Regions from separate parts of the Homo sapiens genome. Here region 1 is linked to region 2. Evidence: promoter capture Hi-C in human tissues and cell types (Jung and others, 2019). All regions are on one chromosome and are shown on one strand. Each heading gives the region's core, a stretch centred on a gene start or on the middle of the fragment in contact. The rest is flanking DNA. Distances are from core to core; before and after follow the strand shown. Region 1 overlaps KHDRBS2 (KH RNA binding domain containing, signal transduction associated 2). Region 2 holds the start of KHDRBS2 (KH RNA binding domain containing, signal transduction associated 2).

Region 1 (5,149 bases), core at 2,600-5,099, 420 kb before region 2:
GATATTAGACCTTTGCTGGATGCATAGATTGCAAAATTTTTCTCCCATTCTGTAGATTATCTGCTTACTCTGTTCATAGCTTCTTTTGCTGTGCAGAAGCTCTTTAGTTTAATTAGATCCCACTGGTCAATTATTTGCTTTTGTTGCAGTTGCTTTTGGTGTCTTTGTTATGAAATCTTTGCCTGTGCCTGTGTCCTGAATGGTAATGCCTGGGTTTTCTTCCAGGGTTTTTATAGTTTGGGTTTTACATTGAAGTCCTTAATCCACCTTGAGACAATTTTTGTATATGGTGTAAGAAAGGGGTCCAGTTTCAATTTTCTGCATATGGCTAGCCAGTTTTCCCAATACCATTTATTAAATAGGGAGTCCTTTCCCCATTGCTCCTTTTGGTCAGGTTTGTCAAAGATATAATGGTTGTAGATGTACAGTCTTATTTCTGCGTTCTCTATTCTGTTCCATTGGTCTATGTGTCTTTTTTTTGTACCAGTACCATGCTGTTTCAATTACTTGTAGCCGTGTAATATAAATCCAGGTAGCACGATGCCTCCAGTTTTGTTTTTTTTTTTCTTAGGATTGCCTTGGCTATTCAGGCTCTTTTGGAGTTCCATATGAATTTTAAAATAGACTTTTCTAATTCTGTAAAGGATGTCAATGCTAGTTTAATGGGAATAGCATTGAATCCACAAATTTCTTTGGGAAGTATAATCATTTTCACGATAGTGATCCTTCCTATCCATGAGCTTGGAATCTTTTTCCATTTGTTTGTGTCATCTCTGATTTCTTTGAGCAGTGGTTTGTAGTTCTCCTTGAAGAAGTCCTTCACTTCCCTTGTTTGCTGTATTCCTAGGTATTTTATTCTTTTTGTGGCACCTGTGAATGGGAGTTCATTAATGATTTGGTTCCCTGCTTGTCTATTGTTGGTGTATAGGAATGCTTGTGATTCATGCACATTGATTTTATATACTGAGATTTTGCTAAATTTGCTTATCAACTTAAGAAGTTGTAGGACTCAGATAGCTGGGATGGGATTTTGTAGATAAAGGAAACCTTTGCAACCAAAGGTAGTTTGTAAGCAAAGATAGTTTGACTTCCTCTTTTCCTATTGTCATCTGCAAGCAAAGATAGATCGACTTCCTCTAATCTTATTGTCATCTTCAAGGAAAGATAGTTTGACTTCCTCTCTTCCTATTTGTATACCCTTTATTTCTTTCTCTTGCCTCACTTCCCTGGCCAGAACTTCCAATACTATGTAGAATAGGAGTGGTGACAGAGGGCATGCTTGTCTTGTGCAGGTTTTCAAGAGGAATGCTGCCAGCTTTTGCCCATTCAGTACGATATCATTGGTGGGTTTGTCATATATGGCTCTTCTTACTTTGAGGTATCTTACTTCAATACCTAGTTAATTGAGAACACTTAACATAAAGTGAGGTTTAATTTTACTGAAGGCCTTTTCTATATCTATTGAGACAGTCCTGGGGTTTTTGTCTTTAGTTCTGTTTATGTGATGAATCATGTTTATTTATTTGCATATGCTTAACCAACCTTGCGTCCTGAAGATGAAGCTTACTTGATCATGGTAAATAAGCTTTTTTGATATACCGCTGAATTCAGTTTGCCAGCATTTTATTGAGCATTTTGGCATTGATGTTCATCAATGATATCGGTCTCAAGTTTTCCTTTTGGTGATATCTCTGCCAGGTTTTGGTATCAGGATGACGCTGGCCTCATAGAATGGGTTAGGGAGGAATCTCTCTTCTTCAATTTTTTTGGAATAGTTTTAGTAGGACTGGTACCAGCTCTTCTTTGTCCCTCTGGCAATATTCATCTGGTAAGCTATTTATCACTGCCTCAATTTCAAAACTCATTATTGATCTATTCAGAGATTCAATTTCTTCCTGATTCAGTCTTGGGAGGGTGTATGTCTCCTATTTATCCATTTTTTCCTAGATTTTGTTATTTATATGTATAGAGGTGTTATAATATTCTCTGATGGTTGTTTGCATTCCTATGGGGTCAGTGACAATATCCCCCTTACCATTTCTGGTTCTTTTTATTTGAATCTTCTCTCTTTTCTTCTTTATTAGTCCAGCTAGTGGTCTTTTTCCTTATTTTTTCAAAAAACCAACTCCCACATTTGTTGAGCTTTTGAAGGGGTTTTTTTTTTTTTTTGTCTTTCAATCTCCTTCAGTTCAGCTCTGATCTTGGTTATTTCTTTCTTCTGTCAGTGTTAGGGTGCCTTTGCACTTGGTTCTCTAGTTTTTTTAGTTGTGATGTTAGATTATTAACTTGAGATATTTCTAGCTTTTTGATGTGAGCATGCAGTACTATACATTTCCTTCTTAACACTGCTTTTGCTGTATCCGAGAGAATCTGGTATGTTGTATCTTTGTTCTCATTAGTTTCAAAGAACTTCTTGATTTCTGCCTTAATTTCATTATTTACCCAAAAGTCATTCTAGAGCAGGTTGTTCATGTAGTTAAATGGTTTTGAGTGAATACCTTAATCTTGAGCTATAATTTGATTGTACTGTGATCCAAGAGACTGTTTCTAACTATTTTAGTTCTTCTGCATTTGCTGGGGAGTGTTTTACTTCAGATTATGTGGTCAATTTTAGAGTAAGTGCCAATTGGCAATGAGAAGAATATATATTCTGTTGTTTCTGGGTGGAGAGTTCTATAGATATCTATCAGATCCACTTGCTCCAGAGCTGAGTTCAGGTCCTGAATATCTTTGCTAATGTTCAGACTCAATGATCTGTCTAACATTGTTAGTAGGATGTTAAAGTCTCCAACTATTATTGTGTGGTAGTCTAAGTCTCTTTGTAGGTCTCTAAGAACTTGCTTTATGAATGTGGGTGATCCTGTGTTGGGTGAGTGCATATATATTTAAGATAGTTAGGTTTTTTTGTTGAATTGAACTCCTTACTGTTATGTAATTCCCTTCTTTGTCTCCTTTGATCTTTGTTGATTTAAACTTTGTTTTATCAGAAACTGGGATTGCGATCCCTCTTTTTTCCTGTTTTCCATTTTTTCTCCTTCCCTTTATTTTGAGACTATGTGTTTCTTTGAATATGAGATGGGTCTCTTGAAGACAGCATACTGACAGGTCTTGGTTCTTTATCCAGCTTGCCACTCTGTGTCTTTTAATTGGGGCACTTAGGCCATTTACATTTAAGGATAGTATTGTTATATGTGGATTTGATCCTGTCAACATGATGCAAGGTGGTTATTTTTCAGACTTGTTCATATGGTGGCTTCATAGTGTCACTGGTCTGTATACTTCAGCATGTTTTTGTAGTGGCTGGTAATTATTTTTCCATTCCTTTCTTCAGGGTCTCTTGTAAGGAAGGTCTTGTGGCAATGGATTCCCTCAGCATTTGCTTATCTGAAAAGGATCTTATTCCTCCTTTACTTATGAGGCTTAATTTGGCTGGATATAAAATTTGGAGTTGAAATTTCTTTTCTTCAAGAATTTTGAATATTAGCCTCAATCTCTTCTGTCTTTTAGGATTTCCTTGAGAGGTCTGCTGTTAGTCTGATAAGCTTCCCTTTGCAGGTGACCTGGCCTTTCTCTCTGGCTGCCCTTAACATTTTTTCTGTCATTTCATCTTTGGAGAATCTGATGATGATGTGTCTTGGGGATGATCTTCTCATGGAGTATCCTACTGGGGTTCTCTGCATTTCCTGAATTTGAATGCTGTCCTGTCTAGCCAGTTTGGGAAAGTTCTTCTGGATGATATTCTGAAGTATGTTTTCCATTCTCCAATTGCTTCCATTCTTGATTGGTGTCTCTTTCAGGTACACCAATCAGTTGTAGATTTGGTCTCTTTATATAATCCCTTATTTCTAAGAGGTTTTGTTCATTCCTTTTCATTCTTTTTAACTGTTCTTTTCTGCCTGTCTTATTTCAGACAGTCTTCAAGCTCTGAGATTCTTTCCTCTGCTGGGTCTCTTCTGCTATTAATACTTGTGACTGCATTGTGAAGTTCTTGTAGTGTGTTTTTCGGCTCTGTCAGGTCAGTTATGTTCCTCTTTATACTCACTGTTTTGGCTATCAGTACCTGCATTGTTTTATCATGATTCTTAGCATCCTTGTATTGGGTTACAAGGTGCTCCTTTGGTTCAGCAAAGTTCATTTTTATTCACATTCCGAAGCCTACTATATTAGTCTCTTTTCATGCTTCTGAAAAAGATATACTAGAGACTGGAAAGAAAAAGAAGTTTTAATGGACTCACAGTTCCATGTGGCTGGGGAGGCCTCACAATCATGGTGGAAGGCAAGGAGGAGTAAGTCATGTCTTATATGGATAGCAGCAGGCAAAAAGAGAAAGCTTGAGCAGGGGAACTCCTCATTATAAAAACCATCAGATCTCATGAAACTTATTCACTGTCACAAAAACAGCATGGGAAAGACCTCCCACCATGATTCAATTACTTCCCACTGGGTTCTTCCCACAACATGTGGGAATTCAAGATGGCATCTGGGTGGGGACACAGCCAAAACACATCAATCCACCCCTCGTCCCACCCAAATCTCATGTCCTCACATTTCAAAACCAATCCTGCTTTCCCAACAGTCCCCCAAAGTCTTAATTCATTTCAGCATTAACTCAAAAGTCCACAGTCCAAAGTCTCATCTGAGACAAGGCAAGTCTCTTCCATCTATGAGCCTGGGATAAATTGGCCAAAACAAAGGGGCTACAGGCCCCATGCAAGTCCAAAATCTGGTGGGGTAGTCTAATCTTAAAGCTCCAAAATGATCTCCTTTGACTCTATGTCTCATATCCAGGTCACGCTGATGCAAGAGGTGGGCTCCCACAGCCTTGAGCAGCTCCAACCCTGTGGCTTTGCAAGGTAAAGCCTTCCTCCCAGCTGCTTTCACTAACTGGCGTTGTGTGTCTCCAGCTTCCAGGTGCACATTACAAGCTATTGGTGGATCTACTATTCTGGGCTCTGGAGGATGGTGGCCCTCTTCTCACAGTTCCTGGTGGCCCTCTTCTCACAGCTCCACTAGGCAATGTCCCTGTAGGGACTCTGTGTGGGGGCTCCAACCCCACATTTCCCTTCCACACTGCCTTAGCAGAGGTTCTCATGAGAGTCTGCCCCTAAGGCAAACTTCTACCTGGACATTCAGGAGTTTCCATACATCC
Region 2 (4,586 bases), core at 468-2,967:
AAAAAGTTCGTTTTTATTGACTTTACTTTTCCACTTTAATTTATATTTTTTTTCATTCAGTAACCAAGAAAGTAGTAGGCATAATTGTATTTCACCTTCCCACTTATCTATAAAACTAGCTTTTTCCCTGAAAACAGTTTAGTTATTTCACATGTTCCATGTTTTGAATATAAATCTTTTCCTAATTGTTTAGTATTTAAACATAGAAAAATACCTTACACTTCATTGTTAATATAAATAACAATTCATAAATTAAAAAATATAGCTAATGCCTATTTAAATCATATATTGAGGAGCAGAATTTATTCTTCCTTGGTACAACTAAGTCTCAAAAAAATCTTTTAATACTGAGGAGCTTGGGTAGAGGAAGTTATCCGTTTTAGTTTTTTGCTGTATGTAAGTCCATAACAAACTTAGCTACAAAACTGCATTGTAACCAATTTGATGATGAAGCAATTCATTATTAATGAAGCATTCATCTAAAAAAAATCTGCAGATGTTTTAAAAAGGCATGGGTAAGTAACTACAGATACCATAGGTGTCTTTAGTATTTAGATGGCATTATTATAACATAAATGGAGTAATTCGGTTAATAAAGTTCATGTGTCTTTTTTCAAAAAAAAACCTTTCAAAGCAATGCAAAAAACAAGACATATGTGTTCCTCTAGGAATGAAATCCCCTTTAACATTACAGGTACACAAAAGAAAATGCACACTTGGTAAAACAGTTGATCAATTATAGAGTGTTCCCAGGGACCAATATCTCACAGAGTACCCAATCATCACACTTCAAATAAATGTATAAGCACTTTAGCCTTTACTTACCACATTAACATACATATAAGAACATGCATAGTTTAATGCATAGGTTAATTCTAACACTTTCCATAGGATAGACTTTGATTAAAGGGTATCAAAAATCACTTCCTAAATGCAGCAAAAAATAAAAATAAAAATACCGATCTGTAGCTACGAAGCTCTTAGAACACTACATTGATCACCATTTACTTCCAAACTGCTTTCCCTTCCCTCTGCGAAGTGAAAATGTCCCTGTAGACCGCGTTACATACACTTTATGGTTTCTCTATCAATGATCCTAACAGGTCACATCGCCACTGCCATTAGATCTCCGTAGCTTTGGTCTTCTCCAAATTAAGACGTGGAGAAGGAGCACTGCTGTCCGCCCCAAGAACGGGGTCTGTCCGCCCGAGCTCTAAGGCGAGCATCTTCAGGGGGACAGTTTCTGCGAAGGCGGGGAGAGGAGTCCCTCCCCAACTTCACTCCCCTAATCAAGCCGCGGGTGAGATAGGCAGCCGGCGGTTTGTGCCCATCTGTGGGGGCAAGTCCTACCTTCTGCCAAAAGGCGCGACGCATGCACAAAAGATGGATCCAGGCTATCTTTCTCTGCCATCAGCTCAGGCAAATATTTCTCCTCTTCCATAGCGCGGACTTCGGATTGTCCCCGGGCGAAGCGCGAGGTTCCGCTCGCTCGGACGCAGGCAGGGTCTTGGGGCAGCGCCTGGCTCCCGCGCTGCTCCTCCTCCGCGCGGCGAGGGATCTCTGTGCGTCCTCACTGGCCCATGCACCCAGCACCTGCGACTCCCGCCGTCGGGCTGCGTGGCCCCGCGCCCACACCTGCCCGTCCCTTCCGTCGTCCCTCGCTCGCGCAGAGCCCCGGCTCACACCAGCGGCCTTAACTGGAGAGGCGGGAACAGGACGCGGCCCACCTCCGCCAACCACTCATTGGTGGTGGTGCCAGGAGAGGCGGGGCGCTGGCAGAAGGCCGCGGGCTCTCATTGGGCGGTAGCGCAAGTCGGGTGGCCTGACTGGCAGGAGGCAGCTGCAGAGGGGAAGGGAGCTCGGAAGATGCAAACGCTTTCTTCTTGCGCCCAAGCCTTCCCTGGCTATTAGGCATGCCCAGTTTTGTGGAGTTCTCTGTGTCTTCAGCTAAGGCGCAGAGGAGAGAGAGCGCGGGAAAAGCGCAGGTTAAAGAGAGAGGTCTGAGTACAAGTGGACAGGGGAGATGGAGATGAGAAGTGAGCCACCCGAGAGGGTGGAAAAGCGCCAGGGAAAGTCTCAGGAAGGTAGATGGGACTTCACCTGCGTCCCTAAGGCACAGGTGTCTCCTTTCCCTCACACAGCTCAGGCGCACTCCAGTTGTGCAGGAATCAGCAGCGCACTGGGTCTGGAAATACAATGAAGACTGCATGTGATCGGCAGCTGGTATTTCCGATGACCTACATCTCAGGGACGCAGTAGGATGTTCATTGATAAACAAATAAAGCGGCTCGAAGAAATATTGTGCAGAGACATGATTGAGGTGTACAATCATTAGGATATTGAATTAGTTCTGGTAACCTATCCGTGCCTCCTTTCCCCAGACCCTATCTGTGGAAGGGAGGTTGGGAGGGGCTGAATTTAAAAACCAAAAACAATATGATTCATTAGTCACAGTTTGTGAAAGAATTGGGAAGACATGTAGAAGAAAGAAGAGACTAGAAAATAGGTAACCACGTTTGCTCTAATTTTCCCCTTTCTCCTAGTTTTAGATGTGCCAGTCTCTTTCACCAGGTACTGTTGCTGAGCTACTTTGTATTATCCCACCTCTATTTAAAGGAAAGTTAAACCCTCATGATATCACCAAGCGTGGAGGCAAAGCCCATCCTTCTTTTACCAATGCGGCTATAAAATGTAACTTGCATGCCTCAATCGCTAGGAAACAATCTTTCCCCAAGTCTTGGGTTCTCGTTTCATAAGTAGTCATTTCCTGATTCTTCTCTCCCCCATTATTTTTGGTGTGGAAGAATGAGGGCCAACTTTGCTACAAATAAAATGTGCTGAAATTTTTCCAACTTATCTTACTGTATTTAAATATTTTCCTTTTAATTTTTAGATAAATTCGGGAGATTAACTTTTATTTGTATAATGTTTAAATAACGTAACGTGCCTCACATTGATTATTTCAATACGTCCTCACAGAAGCACTCTGAAAAATGCCAGCCAAGTATTACTTTCTCTGTTTGTATAAATATGGAAACTGAGGCAAAACAGAGAAATCGTCTCATGTCTAGTTAATGCTGAAGTTGAGATTAAAATTCAATTCTATATTAGCACCATTTATATCCAGAATATACTGCTTCAACCTACCTTTCTGTGTGTTATATATTTAATTTATTTGTGCATGTGTGCATTCAACAAATGTTTATTGGATACTGAAAAGAGTCTAGGGACAGTACTTAAAATTGGAGAAACATTGGTGAATAAGATACATACACATTCATTCCTTGTCATCACAAAGATGTTTTCTAATGGGAGAAGATAAATAAAACCAAGTATACAAGAGGAATGGTAATTGTTGACTGCAATAAAGGTCAAGAATGAACCAAGGAGTTAAGAAAGAGAATACAAGGGAAGACATTAGTTTCTTTATTTTTGACTAGGGTAAACATACAATCTCGATAAGCAGCTGATATTTACGGTGAAAACTCATGGAAAAGAATGAACCAAGTGAGTACAATGTGCAAAGAAAGACATTCCAAGCAGGGGAACTTGCCCCTGAAAAAGCCCTGTGGTGGAAAGAACTGTGCTGTCTTTTGGAATTGACTGAGGTCAATGTGACTACTGTAATATGGGAAAGAATGGAATCAATAAGGGAGGGGGGATTGATGTGTACAAACACTGAAGATTTGATGAATGAAAATTATTTGGATTTTATTCTAAGTGTAATAGGGGACCATAAAGTATTGGTATCTTTCTGGATGTGCTTCTTAATCTCTTTCTGATTCTTATGTTACTTTCAAAGGAGCTATTATTTAGAATTGAGTATATATACAGAAAGTTCTTGCTATTTTATCTGTGTGCAGAATGTTTAGTAGTTGAAGGGTCATGCATCCTGCACCTGGTCTGCAACAGGGATATAAAGGGAAAATATGCTTCAAACTTAAAAGAGGTGGCTACGATTTGCTATGGTAGTAAAGGGTGAATACGATGCCAACCACAGGCAAAAAACTGTAAATGTTTTCGAATAAATGTAAATTAGAACAAAATATTTTACAATTACAATAACATTTTGCTTTGCAGCATATCAAGACATTAAAAGCATATGGTGAGGATGGAGACGTGCAGAAACCCAGTTTCATGAATGAAGAAGGTGTAGTAACTCTTATAATGTCCAGCAACAACAACTACTTTATTATTCACAGCCATCTTTTCCATGATTACAGGATTAATAAGAAGATACCACAGCGAGCTGTCCAAGTGCTGACTTTATTATACAATGTCTTCAAGTCATTATAAATACAGTCAAGTTAATATTTTCTAGTTATTATCAAAACTAAAGATTTATTATTTGTAGTTCTTCAGGTAATCCCTCATCAAATGCCTAAAATGTATTCTAACAAAGCAATATATTTATGCAACTTAAAAAATCAAAAGAAAATAAACTCTAACATAATCTTTAGAAAAGTTTGTGTACTTACTACATGATGGACATTGTAAAATAAAGATATATAAGTATATTGACCCTTAAAAATCAATATGCTTCAGAATTATCTCACAAAATGTTGCCTATTTTTAAACAGAATATG

Evidence for each region. Contacts are between HindIII fragments. The study calls those that stand out against the background at their distance.
Region 1: a fragment that was not itself captured here is called in contact with the fragment with the promoter of KHDRBS2 in region 2 in 1 of the 25 tissues and cell types used here (dorsolateral prefrontal cortex).

Annotation. Positions count from the first base shown.
Region 1 is chr6:61,861,106-61,866,254 of GRCh38, forward strand. The region is part of intron 6 of KHDRBS2 (KH RNA binding domain containing, signal transduction associated 2); the gene reads right to left. Among named protein-coding and RNA genes, the nearest start is that of KHDRBS2, 420 kb to the right of the region's middle. The HindIII fragment of the contact is 4,552 bases long and covers 1,574-5,149 here.
Region 2 is chr6:62,284,508-62,289,093 of GRCh38, forward strand. It overlaps KHDRBS2 (KH RNA binding domain containing, signal transduction associated 2), which reads right to left and starts at 1,718. Exons shown (of 9, transcript NM_152688.4): 1 at 1,351-1,718. The coding sequence starts at 1,441. RefSeq lists a silencer at 1,578-1,667. The HindIII fragment of the contact is 10,192 bases long and covers 1-4,586 here.